7 separate regions of the Homo sapiens genome follow, and all the other regions are linked to region 3. The links are contacts of gene promoters, found by promoter capture Hi-C in blood cells and fetal thymus (Javierre and others, 2016). All regions are on one chromosome and are shown on one strand. Each heading gives the region's core, a stretch centred on a gene start or on the middle of the fragment in contact. The rest is flanking DNA. Distances are from core to core; before and after follow the strand shown. Region 1 overlaps FANCI (FA complementation group I). Region 2 overlaps FANCI (FA complementation group I). Region 3 holds the start of PRC1-AS1 (PRC1 antisense RNA 1). Region 4 overlaps CHD2 (chromodomain helicase DNA binding protein 2). Region 5 overlaps FANCI (FA complementation group I). Region 6 overlaps CHASERR (CHD2 adjacent suppressive regulatory RNA). Region 7 overlaps CHD2 (chromodomain helicase DNA binding protein 2).

Region 1 (2,700 bases), core at 103-2,602, 1.7 Mb before region 3:
CCAAGTTTAAACCTGAAATAGTTTAAGAATAGAATGCTTTTACAACTGTATTTATAAAAGCAATTAGTATACTTTTATGGTCCTCAGAACAATCCTATTTGATGATAATATCCAGACTATAGTTACTGATTGAGACATTAGTTTTGCATTTTGATGCTTCTCTGTATTTTTCCGTAAAGAAATTAAGTTTATAAGCGGCAAAATATTTTGAAATTATTAGTAAAAATTAGGGCCTCTGTTTTCACTATAAGTGTAGGATTATAAAATGGGATAGTAATTGCCTTATATGTTAGGCTGTTTCTTCTCCCTAATGTTCTTTCTCAGCTGATATACTGCTCCTTTTTCCATAAGTGATCTCATCCTATCCAGGTCCCTGCCTGGAAAAGAATCCCTCTTCAAGGTATATGTACAAACAAGTAAAGACATTGAGTATCATGGGATTTTTTTCCTTTTTCTGTCAATTGATGAGTATTATGTTTTTAAGGGAATTTCTTTGTGTTAATGTTGTAGTTATTGAAGGAAGGTGCATCTTAGTGTGTGTTATCTGACATACTAACTAGGAATTGATGCAGTGTTGCTCTTTGATTTTTTTTTCTTTGAAATTATCCAAGATTGCCTTTATAGCTATTTTTTGAGATGACTTGTTGCATGAGTTGTAACTTGAATCATTCTATAGACAAGATTTGATTGAAACTAGCATTTAAATTATTTATTTAAAGTTTCATGCCTCAAATTGAAGGCGTGAACACTGTCAAATTGAAGACAGTGTTCCAGATGTTTTCTGACTCTAGGATAGAGTAATGCTAATATTTCCCTCATTTTTCCATTAATGCAAAATCAGCTTTTTGGCAGCAACATTATATTGTAGTCTCATTGCTCTTATATTTATTTTTGTATATGTTGATAAGTTGCTAAGTTTCCTTTATCTCTGAAGTCCTTTTAGAATCCATGTTAAAAACTATATATAGGCCAGGCATGGTGACTTACACCTGTAGTCCCAGCACTTTGGGAGGATTCCTTTAGGCCAGGAGTTCGAGATCAGCTTAGGCAACATAGTGAGACCCAGTTTCTAAAAACAACTACCAAAACAACAAACTTTATATCTGTTAACTGTCACCTTTTTTAGATTCATCTTGTTTTACTCCATCAAGATCATTTTGTATGATTCTGCTGACCGTATTAATCAGCTTTTTATCCTCTACAAATTTGTTAAGCATGTCAGTAATATATGCAGGCAGTTCATTTGATAAAATGTCCCACAGAAGATGAACTCAGAGTAAAAAATTATAAAACACATAAAGAAGTCCTGTGGCAAGAAAGACTCAAACAGAAATGGGAAAATTCATATTCAAGGATTTAGAGCAATCTGAAAAAAATCTTTAATTATTTAACACAAATACTTAATACAGTATTTAACTTTATTTATTTAAAGGTGGGATCTCACCCTTGCACAGGCTGGAGTGCAGTGGGGCGATCTCGGCACACTGCAGCCTCAACCTCCTGGGCTCATGCGATCCTCCCACCTCAGCCTCCTGAGTAGCTGGGAGTACAAGCATGTGCCACCATGTCCGACTAATTTTTGTATTTTTAGCAGAGATGGGGTTTCGCCATGCTTTCCAGGCTGGTCTTGAACTCCTGAGCTCAAGCAATCCACCCACCTCAGCCTCCCACAGTGCCGGGATTACACGTGTGAGCCACTCTGCCTGACCTAGTATTTAAAATATTTGAAGATGTAAATGAAGGAATAGAACTCACAAAATAAGGGATGGATTTAGAAAACAATGAAAGACAACTTCTTGAAATGAAAACCTCAGTAGGTGGTTTAACAGTAGACAAAACATTGCTAAAGAGAAAATTAGTAAAGTGGAATACAGAGCTGAGGATAACTAAATAAAGCACAGATTGTAAAGAGGTGGAAAATATAAAGAATATTTAAAATATATGCAGAGAACTTTGATAAGAATATATTATCTTCTTAAACACATAGAATGTTCATAAAAATTAATCACATGTCATATACTAGAGCACAAAGAAAACATGGGTAGGTCCCATAAGGTAGAATTATTACAAACTATTCTCTGTGATCACAATGCAATAAAACTGGAAATGAAAACCGAAACTAAAAGTCAAAAAGCAAAGACACTTTTACTTGGAAATTAAAATACCTTCTATTCAACCATTGTGGAAGACAGTGTGGCGATTTCTCAGGGATCTAGAACTAGAAATACCATTTGACCCAGTGATCCCATTACTGGGTATATACCCAAAGGACTGTAAATCATGCTGCTATAAAGACACATTCACACGTATGTTTATTGCGGCACTATTCACAATAGCAAAGACTTGGAACCAACCCAAGTGTCCAACAATGATAGACTGGATTAAGAAAATGTGGCACATCTACACCATGGAATACTATGCAGCCATAAAAAATGATGAGTTCATGTCCTTTGTAGGGACATGGATGAAGCTGGAAGCCATCATTCTCAGCAAACTATCGCAAGGACAAAAAAACCAAACCCCACATGTTCTCACTCATAGGTGGGAATTGAACAGTGAGAACACTTGGACACGGGAATGGGAACATCACACACCGGGGCCTGTTGTGGAGTGAGGGGAGGGGGGAGGGATAGCATTAGGAGATACACCTAATGTAAATGACGAGTTAATGGGTGCAGCACACCAACATGGCACATGTAC
Region 2 (2,700 bases), core at 141-2,640, 1.7 Mb before region 3:
CTCTTAGCATCCTGCCCAGAACTGTATACCTTTAAAAGATGCTTCTCAAGGGTCGGACATGGTGGCTCATGCCTGTAATCCCAGCACTTTGGGAGGCCGAGGTGGGAGAATCACAAGGTCTGGAGTTTGAGACCAGCCTGGCCAACATGGTGAAATCCCGTCTCAACTAAAGATACAAAAAATAGCAGGGCACGGTGGCTCACACCTGTAATCTCAGCATTTTGGGAGGCTGAGGCAGGCGGATCACAAGGTCAGGAGTTCGAAACTAGCCCGGCCAACATGGTGAAACCCCATTTCTACTAAAAAAAATACAAAAATTAGCTGGGCATGGTGGCAGGCGCCTGTAATCCCAGCTACTCGGGAGGCTGAGGCAGGAGAATTGCTTGAACCCGGGAGGTGGAGGTTGCAGTGAGATGAGATCACACCACTGCACTCCAGCCTGGGCAACAGAGCATGACTCTGTCTCAAAAAAAAAAATTAGCCGGGCATGGTAGTGCGTGCCTGTAATCCCAGCTACTCGGGAAGCTGAGGCAGGAGAATCGCTTGAACCTGGGAGGCAGAGGTTGCAGTGAGCTGAGATCGCACCATTGTACTCCAGCCTGGGCGACAGAGTGAAACTCCACCTCAAAAAAAGATGCTTCTCTTCTGGCTCTAATTTTAGTCCTGCCCGCCCGGATCAGTTGGAATGGGCAGGGAACAGGGTTGATCTAAGGAGTTCCAACAGGGCCCCATCTTGGACACAACCTCTGGGAAGATGGTTCACTTCCCACTTGGTCAGTGAGGTCGATCCGTGACTGCTTCCTTGCCCTCTTCTGCTGCCTTCACCCTCTTCCATGCTCTACCCTGCCTTCCAGGGCCAAAAACAGATTACTGCATACCAGCCCCTCTGGAATGTCTGCAGTTCCTTATTTTCCAGAACGTGGCATGTGGAACAAGTCTCCTGTTTCTCTCATGGCTCCAGTTGCAGAGCCTCTCTGTATTTTCAGGTCTGTTTCTTTATTCTGTTGCCCTCGTGGAGCATGGTATGTTCCCTTCCTAAGAAGGTTTAGAACTCCCCTTGAGGTAAAAAGCTGCCTACATTTCTGTACCGTACCTTACATTTGGGTGGTTTTTCTCCCCAGTCTCTCCTGACTCAAGTCTTGATTTTCTTTTGCTTTATCAGAATCTTACACTTTTTGGTTCCTTTTATTAGTTATTCATCCCTCTCCAGGAGCTCTTTATTACCCAATAATTTACAACACAGGGAAGTGTTCTGTGACCCTTTTAACCCTTCTTGAGCATGATAACCCATTGCACATAAAATATATCTGGTTTTGGCTTTGCTGAGTAACGAAAATAAAATATATCTGGTGATTGCCTGTAAGTGGGAAGACTGCAGGGCCCTGCAGCAGCCTCCTCAGCTTCCTCTCCTTTATGGGATCCTTCTAGCCCACTGGCTAAAATAGAAATAGAAATGAATATTCCTGCTACCACCTTGACAGTCCCCATTTTAACCATTCTTTAGTACCTCACCAGCCCCTTGGCTGACCCACTGCAGTAATAGTCCTGCCTTCAACTTCCATGTGCCAGCTCTAAGAACAACAGATTGTAAACCTCTCAACAACTAAAAAAGAAAAAATATCTGAGGATTACAAAGCATCCATTTTTTCCCTATCTTCTAACATCTGTTGCACAGATAGTCCTGTTTACTCCAGACTTGGTCCTCATACCCTGTGTAATTACCTTCTAAGAAAATTGCCACTAGTTGGTGGGCATGGTGGCTTAGGCCTGTAATCCCAGCACTTTGGGAGGCTGAGGCCGGCAGATCACCTGAGGCCAGGAGTTCGAGACCAGCCTGGCCAACATGGCAAAACACCGTCTCTACTAAAAATACAAAAATTAGCTGAGTGTGGTGGCACGTGCCTGTAGTCCCAGCTACTCGGGAGGCTGAGGCACAAGAATCACTTAACTCGGGGCGCAGAGGTTACAGTGGGTCGACATCACGCCACTGCACACCAGCCTGGGTGACAGCAAAGCTCTGTCTTAAAAAAAAAAAAAAAAAAATTAGCACTAGCATGCTAGCTCCACAGAAAAATCATCAGGAATAAGAGAATGTGTTTCTATTTCTTTAGAATAAGAGTAAGAGCCTGAACTATACGGGAGAGAAAAAGGAGAAACCTGCTGCCGTTGCCACAGCCATGGTAAGCTGCTGACACTGACCGTTAAAATATGCTTGTTGGTGAACCCGAAAACATGAAGCGGAAGAAGCCAGTGACAAAAAGACCACGTGTTGTATGATTCCATTTTCATGAAGTGCCCAGAATAAATCATCTAAAAAGGCAAACTAGATTAGTGGTAGCGTAGAGCTAGGTGGGTTGGAAGATGGGGAGACTGGGGTGACAGCTAAAAACGGTATGGAATTTCTTTTGGGGGTGATGAAAATGTTTTAGAATTGACTGTGATGATGGTTGCACAACTCTGCAAATACTGAAAAAAAAGTACATTGTGAGTGAATTGTATGGTATATGAATTACAGCTCTATCAAGCTGTTAGAAAAAATTGTGTGTATTATATACATGGCTGCTTCTCAACTCAGGGATTTTATGATCAGATGGAGCATCTTATTTTTCCTCTGAACCAAAAACATGTTTTATTCACGAAGCACCAGAAAATCTTGAGTTGAAATGGAAATAGTAAAATAACTTACGATACTCAATTGGG
Region 3 (2,700 bases), core at 105-2,604:
CCTGTAGTCCTAGCACTTTGGGAGGCCGAGGTGGGCGGATCATGAGGTCAGGAGATCGAGACCATCCTAGCTAATACAGTGAAACCCTGTCTGTCTGTACCAAAAATACAAAAATTTACCAGGCGTGATGGCACGTGCCTGCAGTCCCAGCTACGCGGGAGGCTGAGGCAGGAGAATCCCTTGAACCTGGGAGGCAGAGATTGCAGTGAGCTGAGATTGTGCCACTGCACTCCAGCCTGGCAAGAGCGAGACTCCATCTCAAAAAAAAAAAAAAAAAAAAAAAAAAAAATCAGTGGTTGCTCGGCAGGGTGAGGCTGGGAAGGAGGAGTGAGAAAGGGGTGGGAAGAACTGCTGGGGTAGAGAGACTTGGTTAACTGGACTGTGGCGATGGTTTTTCTCTTACGCTTCACATGTGTGCAGTTTATGTCCATCCTCCTTCAGTAACGCTGTTGAAGTTGGGCAGCCTCCCCATATTGAGACAAACGGCATTGAAGCCAGAAGCATCCTAGGACTCCCTTTGCTCTCTACACATCAGGGGTTAGGTTTTATATTTCTCACCAAAAAATTAGAGTAAGAGATATTCTTAATTTAGAAATGTACCAGAGAATATTTTAAAAATCACACTCGGCCGGGTGCTGTGGCTCATGCCTGTCATCCCAGCACTTTGGGAGGCAGGCAGATCATCTGAGGTCAGGAGTTCAAGACCAGCCTGGCCAACATGGTGAAAGCCTGTCTCTACTAAAAATACAAAAATTAGCCAGGTGTGATGGTGCGTGCCTGTAATCCCAGCAAATCGGGAGGCTGAGGCAGGAGAATCGCTTGAACCTGGGAGGTGGAAGTTGCACTGAACCAAGATAGTGCCACTGTACTCCAGCCTGGGCGACAGAGTGAGACTCAAAAAAAAAAATCACACTCCTGACTAAAAATTTCCAGGAGGTCCTTTTAGTTTTTTGTGTTTGTTTTTCACACACAGACCAACCAACTAAAAAGTGACTGGGGAAAAAAAGGAAACACCACACTATATCTTTTTGAAATGTAAGTATACAGATTTTAATTTATTTTTAAGAATAATTGTATATTTTAAAAACAGGACACGTACTGTATGAGTAAACAGCGTGGCTAACACCAAGTCCACACTGGTAAGCTTTTGAGAACCATTTACACTATGTTGACAGTAGTACTGCTGCAGGCAGACAGCGGAAGAATAAATAATAGTGCTTCAAGAAGAGTAGTGATTGAGAGGATAGGTAAAGAGGGCGCCTCATCGTGGAAGCTAGAGCAGGAACACCTCCCCAGTAGTGACATGTGCAAAGTTCCAGATCTCCACGACAAAGACAGCTCAACCCATTGGAACAAACAGACTCCCAATGTGGCTGGCAACTGCGGGGGTAGAAGAACTCAGGCAAAGTAGGCACAGGAATGGGGGAGATGAGAGCCAAGGGACAAACGCCGAGAAAGCGTTCCGACAAGCATGTGTGTTCATACATGCATACCCCCAACAAAGGGCAATGCACTGTGTAACAGAACTGAACACAATTTAACAAAGCTGCTCCCAGCCTTCCTGTCACCTCTTTGGCAGTAGGGCAGGCCATCTCAACTTCGGACACACAAAGACATTCTCTTCAGGAGGAAGGCTGTCCTGTGTGGTGGGGACAAGGCTTCAGGTAAGAGCAAAGCTATGATAGCTACAGCATTAATTGAACATGCCTAAACAAAAAAGATGTTAATTACTAGTTACAGGTATACATGCCAAAATTACCCCCAGGGATGGGCATAGTCAATCATTTTCCTACAGTGGTGAAATAAAACAAGCTTTGATCATGCTTCAGCAAGTAGAATTATGTGGTAGAGAAGTCAGGCCCCATATGCTAAAATTTGCACTTCTTGCCATAAACTTTTCATGTATATAAGTCAAAACCAAGTCTCCTAGGACCACTAAACCTATGATGGGCTTTCAACTGTAACACTCATTCACATCTTTAAGTTAGGCCCATGGTCATGGAACCTGGCCAAGGTTTCAAGCACGCCTAAGCTGAAGAAAAACTAAAGTCACCCCCATATAATTAGGTCCAGTCTAGGCACAGGAAGCCACAGCTGGTTGACTGATCAGGGCTTCTCAGGACTGGATGTTGGTTGAATTGAGGATTCCAGAAGTAGCATCAGATTTGGAAGCCTTTGAAAGTTCTCGCTGTTGAAAAATAAATAACATCAGTGGCCATACTGCCTCTCTTACACATGGCCCACCCTTCTAAGTTTGGTTAAGTGTCAGCAAAAGGTCCCTTGAAGGTAGTTTCTCTGAGATCCCTAGCCTGCAATAGGCTGCGTTAGGAGTAAAAGGTGAGGAACTCTGAGCACCATTCTATTAGTCACAGACAGAGTGCATGTGCACGCATGCCCGTGACCCCTTTTTCCTCAGCCAGTCCATTCTGTTACACCTCACAGAAGAGAAATCCTTCATACAGTCATGCACTGCATAATGATGTTTCAGTTAACGACAGGCCACATACACTATGGTGGTCCCATAAGATTATACCATATTTTTACTGTACCTTTTCTATGTTTAGATACACAAATACTTACCATTGCGTTACAATTGCCTACAGTATCCCAGGAATAGCCTGAATCAAAAAAACCCACAATTGCCTACAGTATTCTTTCTGTAACATGCTGCCCAGGTTTGTAGCCTAGGAGGAAAACGCC
Region 4 (2,700 bases), core at 201-2,700, 2.0 Mb after region 3:
TGTTTAATCTTGCAATTTACATAATTAGAAATAGAGATATTTGAGAGAATACTTGAAAGGATTTAGGCACTTTTATTTTATTTTATTTTATTATTTTATTTTGAGACAGAGTTTCGCTGTGTCGCCCAGGCTGGAGTGCACTGGCACTATCTTGGCTAACTGCAACCTCTGCCTCCTGGGTTTAAGTGATTCTCCTGCCTCAGCCTCCTGAGCAGCTGGGATTACAGGCACGCACCACCACTTCCAGCTAATTTTTTGTATTTTTAGCAGAGATGGGGTTTCACCATGTTGGTCAGGCTGGTCTCAAACTCCTGACCTCAAATGATCCACCCACCTTGGCCTCCCAAAGTGCTGGGATTACAGGCGTGAGCCACCATGCCCAGTTGCATTTAGGCACTTTAAAAGAGAAGTGAAGCCAGTTGCAGTGGCTCACACCTGTGGTTCCAGCTACTTGGGAGGCTGAGGCGGCAGGATTGCTTGAGCACAGGAGTTTGAGGCCAACCTGGGGAAGATTGTGATACCCGTTCTCTAAAAAAAAAAAAAAATAGAGAGCGGGAAGTGATAGAAAAGGCGAGTGTCTTTGAATTCTAAGTTAGAAATTAAATATATAGGCTTATTTGCTAGATTGGCTGAATAAATCCTTTCCTTGGAATTTATTCCATCAGGAAACTGATGTGCTTGGGTCCTCAGTAATGAAATATCAGACAAGTGATACGTCTCTGAGAAGTTGACATTCATGTTAATGGCACTAGAATTCTATCTGTGAAAACCAGTATTTAATTGCCAAAGAGTGTGATAGGGAAAATGTGGTCAGAGAAGCACCAATGTAGAAGTCTCTGAGCTCCAGTGGTCATTGAATGGGTTTTAAGAGGAAGTTGTGGTTGTTGAACTGCATCTGGCCCTTGTATAATGGATTGGTGCTGCTGGCTATACAGACAAGAGGGGGCCCAGGGTATTGCCCTCCTGTGAAAGGTATCAAGAGAAAGATTCTTATAGTTCAATAGGAGAACTACTAGACCCCAGGGGTGAGGAGAAGAGGAATGATGTTGACAAGTACATCAAGGTCAAAGTGTGTGTGTCTTGGCTACCTCGAAGGGTATTTTGACTTTATCTCCTAGGTATTCGTACAGCTGAGTACAGTGGCATTATGAAATAGTTTTATTTAGAAAGCTTCATGTAATAGCAGTATATAGGAGACTCTGGAGTAAGTAATTATTAAAGCCAGAAGGTCCAGCCAGTAAGATGTCATTGAAGTCCACGAATGAAGAAGTAGTGTGAGGACAAGGGAAGTAACAGTGGCGTGGAAGGAGTGGATGGGAGAACAGTTATGGGGTAGGTTTGGTAGGAGTGGATGGATGGCTGGGTTTTGGAGTTGAGAGTAAGCAGTCGGATTCCATTCACTGCCAGCCGCCCTCATAGAGAACTGAACACATCAATAACCTTATCAAATATTCTTATTAGAATGATACTTCTCATAATGTGTGCTATAGAGCACTAATCTTCAGAGAAAAGTCCCCTGAAAAAAGACTTTTTGGCCATGTAACTTTGAGATACATCCCTGAATGAATTTCTCCTGTAAATTCACGCTATGGACACACATTTCAGACTTTGAAAAGTCATGAGTAAAGAAATTGTATAACTTTTTGATCGGTTGTTTCCTAAACTGATTTGGCCACAGAATCCACATTTTATGCAAACCATAGAGACTGACCTCACTAGAATGCTATCCTTTAAGCTTCTGGGGGTGAAAACAACCTTCCCTTCAGAAGCTTGTTTCTGAAGGGAAAACCAAATTCACGCAATTAAAGGGTTTAAGGTAGATGGGCGGCATTTCTGAATTTACAAATCCTGTTATGGTGAAGATCAACTGTATTTAGCATATGACAGCTGGAGGCAATGTTTTGTACTCTTTAGAATCAGATAACAGAAAGATAGTTGTTTCTGAAAAATAGGAGACTCTGACTGCCATATAATAGACAAGACCTAAAGTGCTATTTAATGATGTTCATAGATTTATTTCAGGAAAGGGGCAAGTTAACTAAAAATATTTTATTTGAGGATGAACTAACTCTGGCTTATGGAATATTAACCATGAAGAAAGGGGTGATGGAGTGAGGTGGTGATTCACACACATGAAATTTAAGTTTTTGGCCAGGCGCGGTGGCTCACGCCTGTAATCCCAGCACTCTGGGAGGCCGAGGTGGGCAGATCACGAGGTCAGGAGATCGAGACCATCCTGGCTAGCATGGTGAAACCCCATCTCTACTAAAAATACAAAAATAGCCAGGCGTGGGTGGTGGCGGGCGCCTGTATGTAGTCCCAGCTACTTGGGAGGCTGAGGCAGGAGAATGGCGTGAACCCGGGAGGCAGAGCTTGCAGTGAGCCGAGATTGGGCCACTGCACTCCAGCCTGGGTGACAGAGCAAGACTCCGTCTCAAAAAAAGAAATTTGAGTTTTTATGCTTTGATGCCGAATATGTGAATTGTGGCTAGCGTTTTAACATAGTAGCAGTAAGAACATTTTCTCAGACTTGGGCTTTTGTTTTTCAGGCCCTGAAGCAGAGACCACGATTTGTAGCTTTAAAGAAACAACCTGCATATTTAGGAGGGGAGAATCTGGAACTTCGAGATTATCAGCTAGAAGGTCTAAACTGGCTAGCTCATTCCTGGTGCAAGTAGGTAGAAAAATATGAGTGCAATT
Region 5 (2,700 bases), core at 185-2,684, 1.7 Mb before region 3:
GTAGAGACAGAGTTTCGCCATATTGCCCAGGCTGGTCTTGAACTTCTGAGCTCAAGCAATCCACCTGCCTTGGCCTCCCAAAGTGCTGGGATTACAGGCTTGAGCCACCGGTCCTGGCCGTTTCTTTTCCTTTTTAAAGGAAACAGTCTCACTATGTTGCCCAGGCTGGAGTGCAATGGCTATTCACAGGCTCTATTATAGCACGGTAAAGCCTCAAACTCCTGGCCTCAAGTGATGCTCCCACCTCAGTAGCTGGGACTATAGGCATGTAGCCCTGTGCCTGGCTTGGCCTTTCTTCTTTTTTTTTTTTTTTTTTTTCTGAAGACGTAGGAACTTTTCACTATGTTGCCCAGGCTAGACTTGATCTTCTGGGCTCAACTGATCCTCCTGCCTCAGCCTCTCAAGTAGCTGGGACAATAATAGGTGCATGCCACTGCATCTGACTCATGGCCTCTTTTTAAAGTGAGTAAAAAACATTAAGAGTTTTATTTACTTTGTTGAAATTTGGAGCGTACAGTTGGAATTCAATTATTGATTAGCCAGTTTAGAGAAATTCATTTAAAACCACATGGAAAACATCAGTAACTGTCCTGGTTTTTATTTTAATTTCAGGATATACATTAGCTGTTGTAACAGTCTTTACTATGTCATGCTTTCACTGTGTATTAAATATATTTTAAAGTTTCATAATTTAAGCATAATTTATGGTAGGCCTCTTCTAGGCCTGGAATTCTTGTTTATTAATAGATTGAATTTACATGAGCTTTGCAGTAGGGCAAATTTGAAATTAGAGTTTATTGTTTGAGTGTTTTACCCATTGTTAGGCCTTAAAGCTTTTTAATCTTTGTATCTCATTATTCTTTTTCCTGAGGTTTATACTTGTGTCTCCAGTATTTTCCCAACCCAATCTCTTAAAGTTGGGCTAAAGAAGGAGGTACTCACTAACCAGGAAATTCCTGGAAAGCTTCCCATCTTCTGGAAATCTCAACTGTCATAGGACTTGAAAGCATCTCCATGTATAATTAGCCTGGAGTGGGTACTTGCCACTGGGTGGGACCAAACCTCAGCTGGGAGAGATTTGGATAGCCTTATTAGATCCTCTAAAATAACTGGCTGGTTAGTTACACATGCTTGCCCCAGTCAGTTAATGAACCTTTAAATAATGCATTCTCCATTTTATGTAATTGAATTTTTGGCTCTTCAGAGTATGAATATTGTTAACTCTGTTAAAGTCTTATAATTTATCCATAACTGTCTACTTCATTCTGTAGTGCTGCATTATAATTTGTTGCAATTTAACAGGTAGATATAATGGATAAAGGTTATATTCACATTATTTCCACTGTGGGGTATAACATTAAGTGGTATAAAACCACCAATGATTCTACTCTTTTACAAAAGATTATTTGTAGTTTTAGCTTATGCTGTTGATACCAGATCACTCATCCATTTATAGTATAAATATCTACTGAGTGTCTTTTATATGCCACCCTTGTGCTAAGCAATGTGGGTAAAAATATGACTATACTATGACCTCTCTCCTAGAGAATCTCTGTCTTTGGAGGGGAGCTAATTTGTAAGCCTCTACATAAGCGTTGTCAGTGCTGTAGGGTAATAGAAGAGGCAGCAATGAACTTCTCATCATGAAATCTTGAATAGGAATCTTTAATTTTTTTAATACTCTCTAGCTTCTGGATTTTCCCAGTATTCTGTGTGTCATTGGAGACCACTTGCCTGCTGTTCCCATTATGGTACATTTAGGAATTCAGAATTCTGTCAGACGATGTGTGTAAAGAAAAGGTTTATATGCAGAGTACGTTGATTATCTAGGTCAAGTTTGGGAAATGTATAACAGGGCAATGAGTATAAAGGTAAGAATATCTCACTAAGTTTTTCTTTTTTAACTAAGCTTTGTGTTCTTGTAGCGTTCATAGCTGGGACCATGTTACTCAGGGCCTCGTAGAACTTGGTTTCATTTTGATGGATTCATATGGGCCAAAGAAGGTTCTTGATGGAAAAACTATTGAAACCAGCCCAAGTCTTTCTAGAATGCCAAACCAGCATGCATGTAAGCTCGGAGCTAATATCCTGTTGGAAACTTTTAAGGTGAGACACTATTTTGGCAACCACTCCCTAATTTTGTTTAAATAATCCAAGTAGGGCTTGGCATTTGCCTGGGAGTTTGGTGGACAAGGAAATTTGAGTATGTATTAGTTTGACAGAGGATATATGACAGAGATTAGGATAATATTGAAACATTATAGATCCAGTTTGATGGAATACTTACTTACGTATTCTTCTATGTAAGTTTTTCATTTATTCCACTTAATCCAATTGTTTCTGACCTAGAAGTTTGAATATAAGACAGCTTTTTCATGATTTTTCCTTCTTCTTCCAGAAGTAAACCATTTCTAGTTTTTGTTTTGTTTTGTTTTAATGCTGTTCCTTTACACAGAAGAAATTTTTTTAGGTCACTGTAGAGCATCAAGCTTAAAGAATCATGCTTAAGAATTTTTACTGAAAATAAAACAAAAAAAGAATCATGCTTGGTCGGGCATGGTGGCTCAAGCCTATAATCCCAACACTTTGGGAGGCTGAGGTGGGCAGATCACTTGAGCTCAGGAGTTTGAGACCAGCCTGGGCAACGTGGCGAAACCTCATCTCTACAAAAAACACAAAAATTAGCCAGGTGTGGTGGCA
Region 6 (2,700 bases), core at 201-2,700, 1.9 Mb after region 3:
TACATGTCCCTTAATTTTAAGGAATGAACAAGTCAGATGGAAGATTTTTACTGAGATCAGGAATGAATTGAGTAATTTAGTTTTCTTTTTAAAGCTGGGGAGAAATGAGCAAAATCAAGGAGAAATATCTTGCTTTTGATATTTATTACTGATGCTGTGACACTCCCTTTAATCAATGTTTTTTAATATGGGTGGCAGTATCTCAGTTAACCAAATAGTTAAGTAAGTAGATTTTTGTATTGTATATAGTAAACAGTATCCTAATTGTTGCCAAGGAGACAAGGAATTACCTAATGGGCAAAAATGCCCTTATATTTATTTACCTCAAATTCAGTCACACTTGACTGTATCTCCACAAATTCAGATGGAGAGCTGGAAAATTTATAGAGAAGACCAGGGTTTAAATCTTGTTTTTTCAAATTATGTTTGGTCATGATGAATCTGAATCATTTATTTAATGATAAAATCATCTGACTTCTCACTTCTCACTTCTCCCTTCAGTTAAAATTATTTAAGTAATGGATTTGTTTTTCTATGAGAGACATTTGGTATTTTGGTAATGAAAGTGTATTATTTTAGTTGCATATAATTTGAAAACAGCATTTTATGGCAAATCTATCAAGCCAGGCAGATACTTTGCATTTTTGATCTTTTTTTTTTTTTTTTTTTTTTGGTGGCTACATCTTTTCTGTATTCTCAGATATGTCGTTAAAGATGGTGCCACCTATAGTGGCCATTTTCGTTATCTAAACAAAACCAACATCTGTTGGATTGAAAAACTATGCTATGATCGACTGCTTTATGTGTGTATGTTTTTTTTTTTTTTCAAATCCCTTAAGATTCTTTTCTATAATTAGTTTTCTTTGAAGAAGCTTGGAAAGTTTTCTGCATTGAGATTTAGAATCCACAGTGTTTCTGTAATTTAGCTTTCCAGGAATTTTGAATTTTAATTTTTGTTTTTACTTTTTATGTACACAGTATAATGATGTTAGTGTTAAATATTAAAAATCTGACTCTTCACTGGGACTTTTTTATAGATACAAATGTATCTGTGGTAGTACAAGGACTTTGTTACTTTGGCGTGCAGTCTTATCAAGGAGTTGTGTGTGTGTTTTGCATACAACTTTACAATTTCATAGTTGAAAGCTGTTACAAAATGAAAGTTTTGTGTATGGTAGGATATCTTCAAGGTGGGTGGATGTTTTCTGTTTAAAAGATTAAGATGCCAACAGCGTTTTTTTCTTTTAATTTTTTCATCAAGCACCCAGTCAGCTTGAAGAGTTTCAAATGGACCCTACCACTGAGAAATCAAGATGGCAGTCTACTATGGGGAATTGAGGAAAAATGGATTAATACAAGAGTCCTGTGATAATATACAACCAAGACAGGGTTCTTTTAACATGGATTCCATGCAGTGAATGAAGACATAGGTTTCTTACCCAACACAAATGGACAGTGGATTTGACTTTCTAAAGACTTTTTTTGTGGACATTTTGACATTTGGAGAAGAAAGATGGCACACTAACCCAGATAATAGTTTTTATGCCTGGAATTTTTTGCAGTTTGATTTGTATGCGTATGACCTCTTGAAATGTTAATTTTTAATAAAATTTGTAACACTTAAAAATTTCTCAGTTTGGGTTTTTTTTTTTAAGTGGAAGTTTAATTAAATGTTTAGTTTTATTTTAGTAATACTTTGGCCTTTGTAGTTGCCGAGTGGTAAAGTGTACTGAATATGAATAAAGCTGGTAAATTGGAAATGGTGTAATCGAAAACATTTTACTTGGTTTATGAAGATTTACGTTTTTCACAAAGTTGTGCTCTTAGATGGTCATTTGGTTTAAATACTGTTTTGTTTGTGCTTTCATGAAACACCTTTCAAAACAACTCAATGGGTAATAATAGAATCTGATTTTAATCTGCCACAAGATTTTAATGAACTTGAAACAAACTGCTTGTTGCTCGAAAATTCAGGATGAGTGATACACATATACTTCTGAATTATTTTGTGTTGATTGAAATGGTTTCTTAAGCTTTTTAATACTATAAATACATCTTGCTATAGAATATTCATCTGAATATTTAAATTAATGTCTCCTATTGTCTTACTATTAGAGGAAGAAGTGTTGGATTTATGGGTTAGGGTCCTTGGAGTATTCACAATTTTTTAAATTTGAAATTATGTGTGTAATCCATTTTATATAACTTTGAAGTAGGATTAATATCTTGTATCGTCTTTATTTTGTACAATTGGGGATTTAGAATAAATGAATTGCACCCTGCCATAGATTACTTACGTTTGATTTTTAAATGCCAGGTTTTCATTTATTACTAATCAACTGATACCAGTTTTGGTAACTATTACAAAGGTGGTAGGCATTATTTTGGTAGACAAAATGAGTTCTTGATTCTGTTTTCCCATTTTACATGAGAAGAATAAATAGTTCAGGTTAAATTGTTTTGTGTTAATCATACTGTTTGTGATTCATGTCAAATACTGCAGCATACACATCCATGGTTAATACACGAGCACCATTTGTTATTGACTGATGTGAGGTGGTTGGTCTTTGTTAAATTCAAAAATGGAATTTTGGATATTGTTCTTGCTACGAAATTTATCTTTGTGTGTAGAGTATGGAATTGAAACAGTTTGGATTATGGATTTTACCTAGATTGGACATTGTTGATTTTGTTTGGTGT
Region 7 (2,700 bases), core at 8-2,507, 2.0 Mb after region 3:
GGACTTAATGTGGAGTTTCTTTATAACATAGATTTATATGTTGATTTTTTAATTTAAAAAGTTCGATTTATATGATATGAAATTATTTGATTTTTTTTGAGAAATAATTTTTAAAGTCATTTTTTGGAGAGGGTGTGGATCCCGTTGACAATCTGAATTCTATAGCTTCTCTCAAAAATGTAGATATTCAAAACTTTGTATACCAGTTCAGGGGTTCTCATGTTAAACAGTTGTCCATGGCTTCTATTAAGAGCTCTAGGTACATATGCTCTGTTGTAAAATATTATTACTCTTTAGTAAGTGGCCTAAGGCAAGTCATTTGAGATTTTAAAACCCATTTCCTCATCTCCAAAAAAAAAAATAATACCATCTACCCAACAGGATTATTAGAAACTATGCTAAGATTTTGTGACATTAAATAAATGTAGGGTATTACAGAGCCTTACAGAAAAGTACTTAATTTTGCCCTGCTAGAGCGCATTCAGTTTTCATTTGTGTTTTGGAGAAATAGTAACTGTAAGCAAACCTGCACTTGGCATCTTAGAAGGCTTTTGTTCTGCCCCAGTCTCCTGGTCTGCTTGGGAGACTATTATCTGCTTACTGGTCTAATGGCCTTTTGAGTATCTTTCCTGAAATGTCCACCTTGATTACACCCTGGGAAATCCATGCATGTAATCATTACTTCACCATCTGGCTACATTCCTTTGGTCTCTTGACTGCAAGTTAAATGGTGCTATGCTTGAATTCTTGACTTCCTATTTTAATGGCCTTATTTGTGTGTGCAGAAGCCAGCGTTTTTTTCAGTCACTGTATAATACATTGCGCTTACTCTGGTTACTGGCTCATAGTCTTGTCAGCCTTTTTGTTTTGTTTTGTTTTGAGACAGGGTCTCACTCTGTTGCTCAGGCTGGAGTGCAGTGGCTTGATCTCAGCTCACTGCAGCCTTGGCTTGCTGGACTTAATTGACCCACCTAAGCCACTCGAGTAGCTGGGACTACAGGCATGTGCTATCATGCCCAGCTAAGTTTTTAAAAATTTATTGTATAGATGGGGTCTCACTATGTTTCTCAGGCTGGTTTCAACCTCCTGAGCTCAAGCAGTCCTCCAGCCTCGGTCTCCTAGGATTACAGGTGTGAGCCACTGTGCCCCGCCACTTATCAGTCTTAAGAATTCCCCAAAGTTGGCAACCTTCAGTAGCATATATGGACCTTTCTTTTCCTGAGTAGAACCTCTTAGTTCCTTGCAGAGTGGGATCTGTCTTCTTTTTCATATTGCTTCCCTACCCTAGGGCTGTTCATAGGAACTGCCTTGGGCTGAGATAGTTCCCCTCATGTTCCTGTGTTTGGGCACTGGGCTAGCCTTCGTTTCTGCTATTCTCTGGCCAGCTGGTGAGTATTGTGGATTTACAGAGAGCTCTTCTCCTGAGTCACCAGTTGAGATTCCTGAAAGATTAATTAGGGGAGGTCTTGTAGCTGCTGACACTCAAGTTGCAAGGCACTTTAGGAGCCTTCTGTGATCCAAGCTGAGCAAGTGTAACATAACCTAATGTGTGGTCACATGCATTTCAGAATTCAGACTCACTCAGAGAGTGAAAGGTTTGAAATATTGGCACAAAGAAATGCTTTTCTGAAACCCTGCAGATTTTATTCACACATTTTAGAGTTTTTAAAAAGGGACCATTTTGTAAAATTGGTTTAAAAAAATTAATTCCAAACTTTAGGAAAGTTGCAAGAATAAAAGTGCAGTACAAAGGACACCTTATATACTTTACCCAGATTACCATTTTTCCTCCATTTGCTTTATTATTATGGGTGCTGTTTATTTAAGAGAGAGGGTCTTGCTCTGTCACCTAGGCTAGAGTGCAGTGGTGCAACCTTGGCTCTCTGCAGCCTCAATCTCCTGAGCTCAAGTGATCCTCCTACCTCAGCCTCCCAAGTAGCTGGGACGACAGGCGTGCACCACCATGCCTGATTTTGTATTTTTGTAGACATAGAGGTCTCACTACGTTGCCCTGGCTGTTCTCAAACTCCTGGCCTCAAGTTATCCTCTCACCTTGCTCTCCAAAAGTGTTGGGATTAGCATACGTGAGCCACTGCACCCAGCCTGTGTATATTTATATATATACAAACATAATGTTTTTTATGAACTATTTGAGACTAAAATTCATAAAATTTTACCTTTTATCCCTTTACCTTAAATATGTAAGGTGTATTTCTTAAAAATAAGGATTTTCTCTTTTATAAGCACAGTACAGTACAGATTCAACTTAGATTTAAAACATTGCTGACGTACTTTTTTTTTTTTTTTTTTGAGACGCAGTCTGGCTTTGTCGCCAGGCTGGGGTACAGTGGCGCAATCTCGGCTCACTGCAGCCTCCGCCTCCGGGGTTCAAGCAATTCTCCTGCCTTAGCCTCCCGAGTAGCTGGGACTACAGGCGTGCGCCACCACGTCCAGCTAATTTTTTCTATTTTTAATAGAGACGGGGTTTCACCATGTTGGCCAGGATGGTCTCAGTCTCTTGACCTCGTTATCAGCCTGTCTTGGCCTCCCAGAGTGCTGGGATTGCAGGCTTGAGCCACCGCACCTGGCTGCTGATGTACTTTTGTCTGATTCATATTTCAGTTTTGTCAATTAACCCAATAAAGTCTTTCATAATATTTTTCCATCTCTACTACAGGATCTAGTTTAGGGTCAGTTACA

The links. The method cuts DNA at HindIII sites, captures the fragments that hold promoters and counts their contacts. A CHiCAGO score of 5 or more calls a contact.
Region 1: a fragment that was not itself captured here is called in contact with the fragment with the promoter of PRC1-AS1 in region 3 in 1 of 17 cell types (erythroblasts); the score reaches 5.4 in erythroblasts.
Region 2: a contact is called between a fragment that was not itself captured here and the fragment with the promoter of PRC1-AS1 in region 3, in 1 of 17 cell types (erythroblasts). The highest score is 6.2, in erythroblasts.
Region 4: a fragment that was not itself captured here is called in contact with the fragment with the promoter of PRC1-AS1 in region 3 in 1 of 17 cell types (erythroblasts); the score reaches 6.2 in erythroblasts.
Region 5: a fragment that was not itself captured here is called in contact with the fragment with the promoter of PRC1-AS1 in region 3 in 1 of 17 cell types (erythroblasts); the score reaches 8.4 in erythroblasts.
Region 6: a fragment that was not itself captured here is called in contact with the fragment with the promoter of PRC1-AS1 in region 3 in 1 of 17 cell types (erythroblasts); the score reaches 5.0 in erythroblasts.
Region 7: a contact is called between a fragment that was not itself captured here and the fragment with the promoter of PRC1-AS1 in region 3, in 1 of 17 cell types (erythroblasts). The highest score is 5.1, in erythroblasts.

What each region holds. Positions count from the first base shown.
Region 1 is chr15:89,247,939-89,250,638 of GRCh38, forward strand. All of the region lies in intron 2 of FANCI (FA complementation group I), which reads left to right. Among named protein-coding and RNA genes, the nearest start is that of FANCI, 5.3 kb to the left of the region's middle. The HindIII fragment of the contact is 3,959 bases long and covers 1-2,700 here.
Region 2 is chr15:89,310,793-89,313,492 of GRCh38, forward strand. FANCI (FA complementation group I) reads left to right here. Exons shown (of 38, transcript NM_001113378.2): 35 at 2,112-2,180. Among named protein-coding and RNA genes, the nearest start is that of MIR6766, 15 kb to the right of the region's middle. The HindIII fragment of the contact is 9,693 bases long and covers 1-2,700 here.
Region 3 is chr15:90,965,015-90,967,714 of GRCh38, forward strand. It overlaps PRC1-AS1 (PRC1 antisense RNA 1), which reads left to right and starts at 1,355. Exons shown (of 4, transcript NR_051984.1): 1 at 1,355-1,664. PRC1 (protein regulator of cytokinesis 1) reads right to left here. Exons shown (of 15, transcript NM_003981.4): 15 at 1,026-2,188. The coding sequence ends at 2,117. The HindIII fragment of the contact is 668 bases long and covers 1,143-1,810 here.
Region 4 is chr15:92,946,403-92,949,102 of GRCh38, forward strand. It overlaps CHD2 (chromodomain helicase DNA binding protein 2), which reads left to right. Exons shown (of 39, transcript NM_001271.4): 13 at 2,550-2,674. Among named protein-coding and RNA genes, the nearest start is that of MIR3175, 43 kb to the left of the region's middle. The HindIII fragment of the contact is 565 bases long and covers 1,169-1,733 here.
Region 5 is chr15:89,274,786-89,277,485 of GRCh38, forward strand. FANCI (FA complementation group I) reads left to right here. Exons shown (of 38, transcript NM_001113378.2): 13 at 1,926-2,106. Among named protein-coding and RNA genes, the nearest start is that of FANCI, 32 kb to the left of the region's middle. The HindIII fragment of the contact is 945 bases long and covers 963-1,907 here.
Region 6 is chr15:92,896,463-92,899,162 of GRCh38, forward strand. CHASERR (CHD2 adjacent suppressive regulatory RNA) reads left to right here. Exons shown (of 6, transcript NR_037601.1): 6 at 1,262-2,285. Among named protein-coding and RNA genes, the nearest start is that of CHD2, 2.5 kb to the right of the region's middle. The HindIII fragment of the contact is 1,161 bases long and covers 871-2,031 here.
Region 7 is chr15:92,929,572-92,932,271 of GRCh38, forward strand. All of the region lies in intron 5 of CHD2 (chromodomain helicase DNA binding protein 2), which reads left to right. Among named protein-coding and RNA genes, the nearest start is that of MIR3175, 27 kb to the left of the region's middle. The HindIII fragment of the contact is 4,783 bases long and covers 1-2,700 here.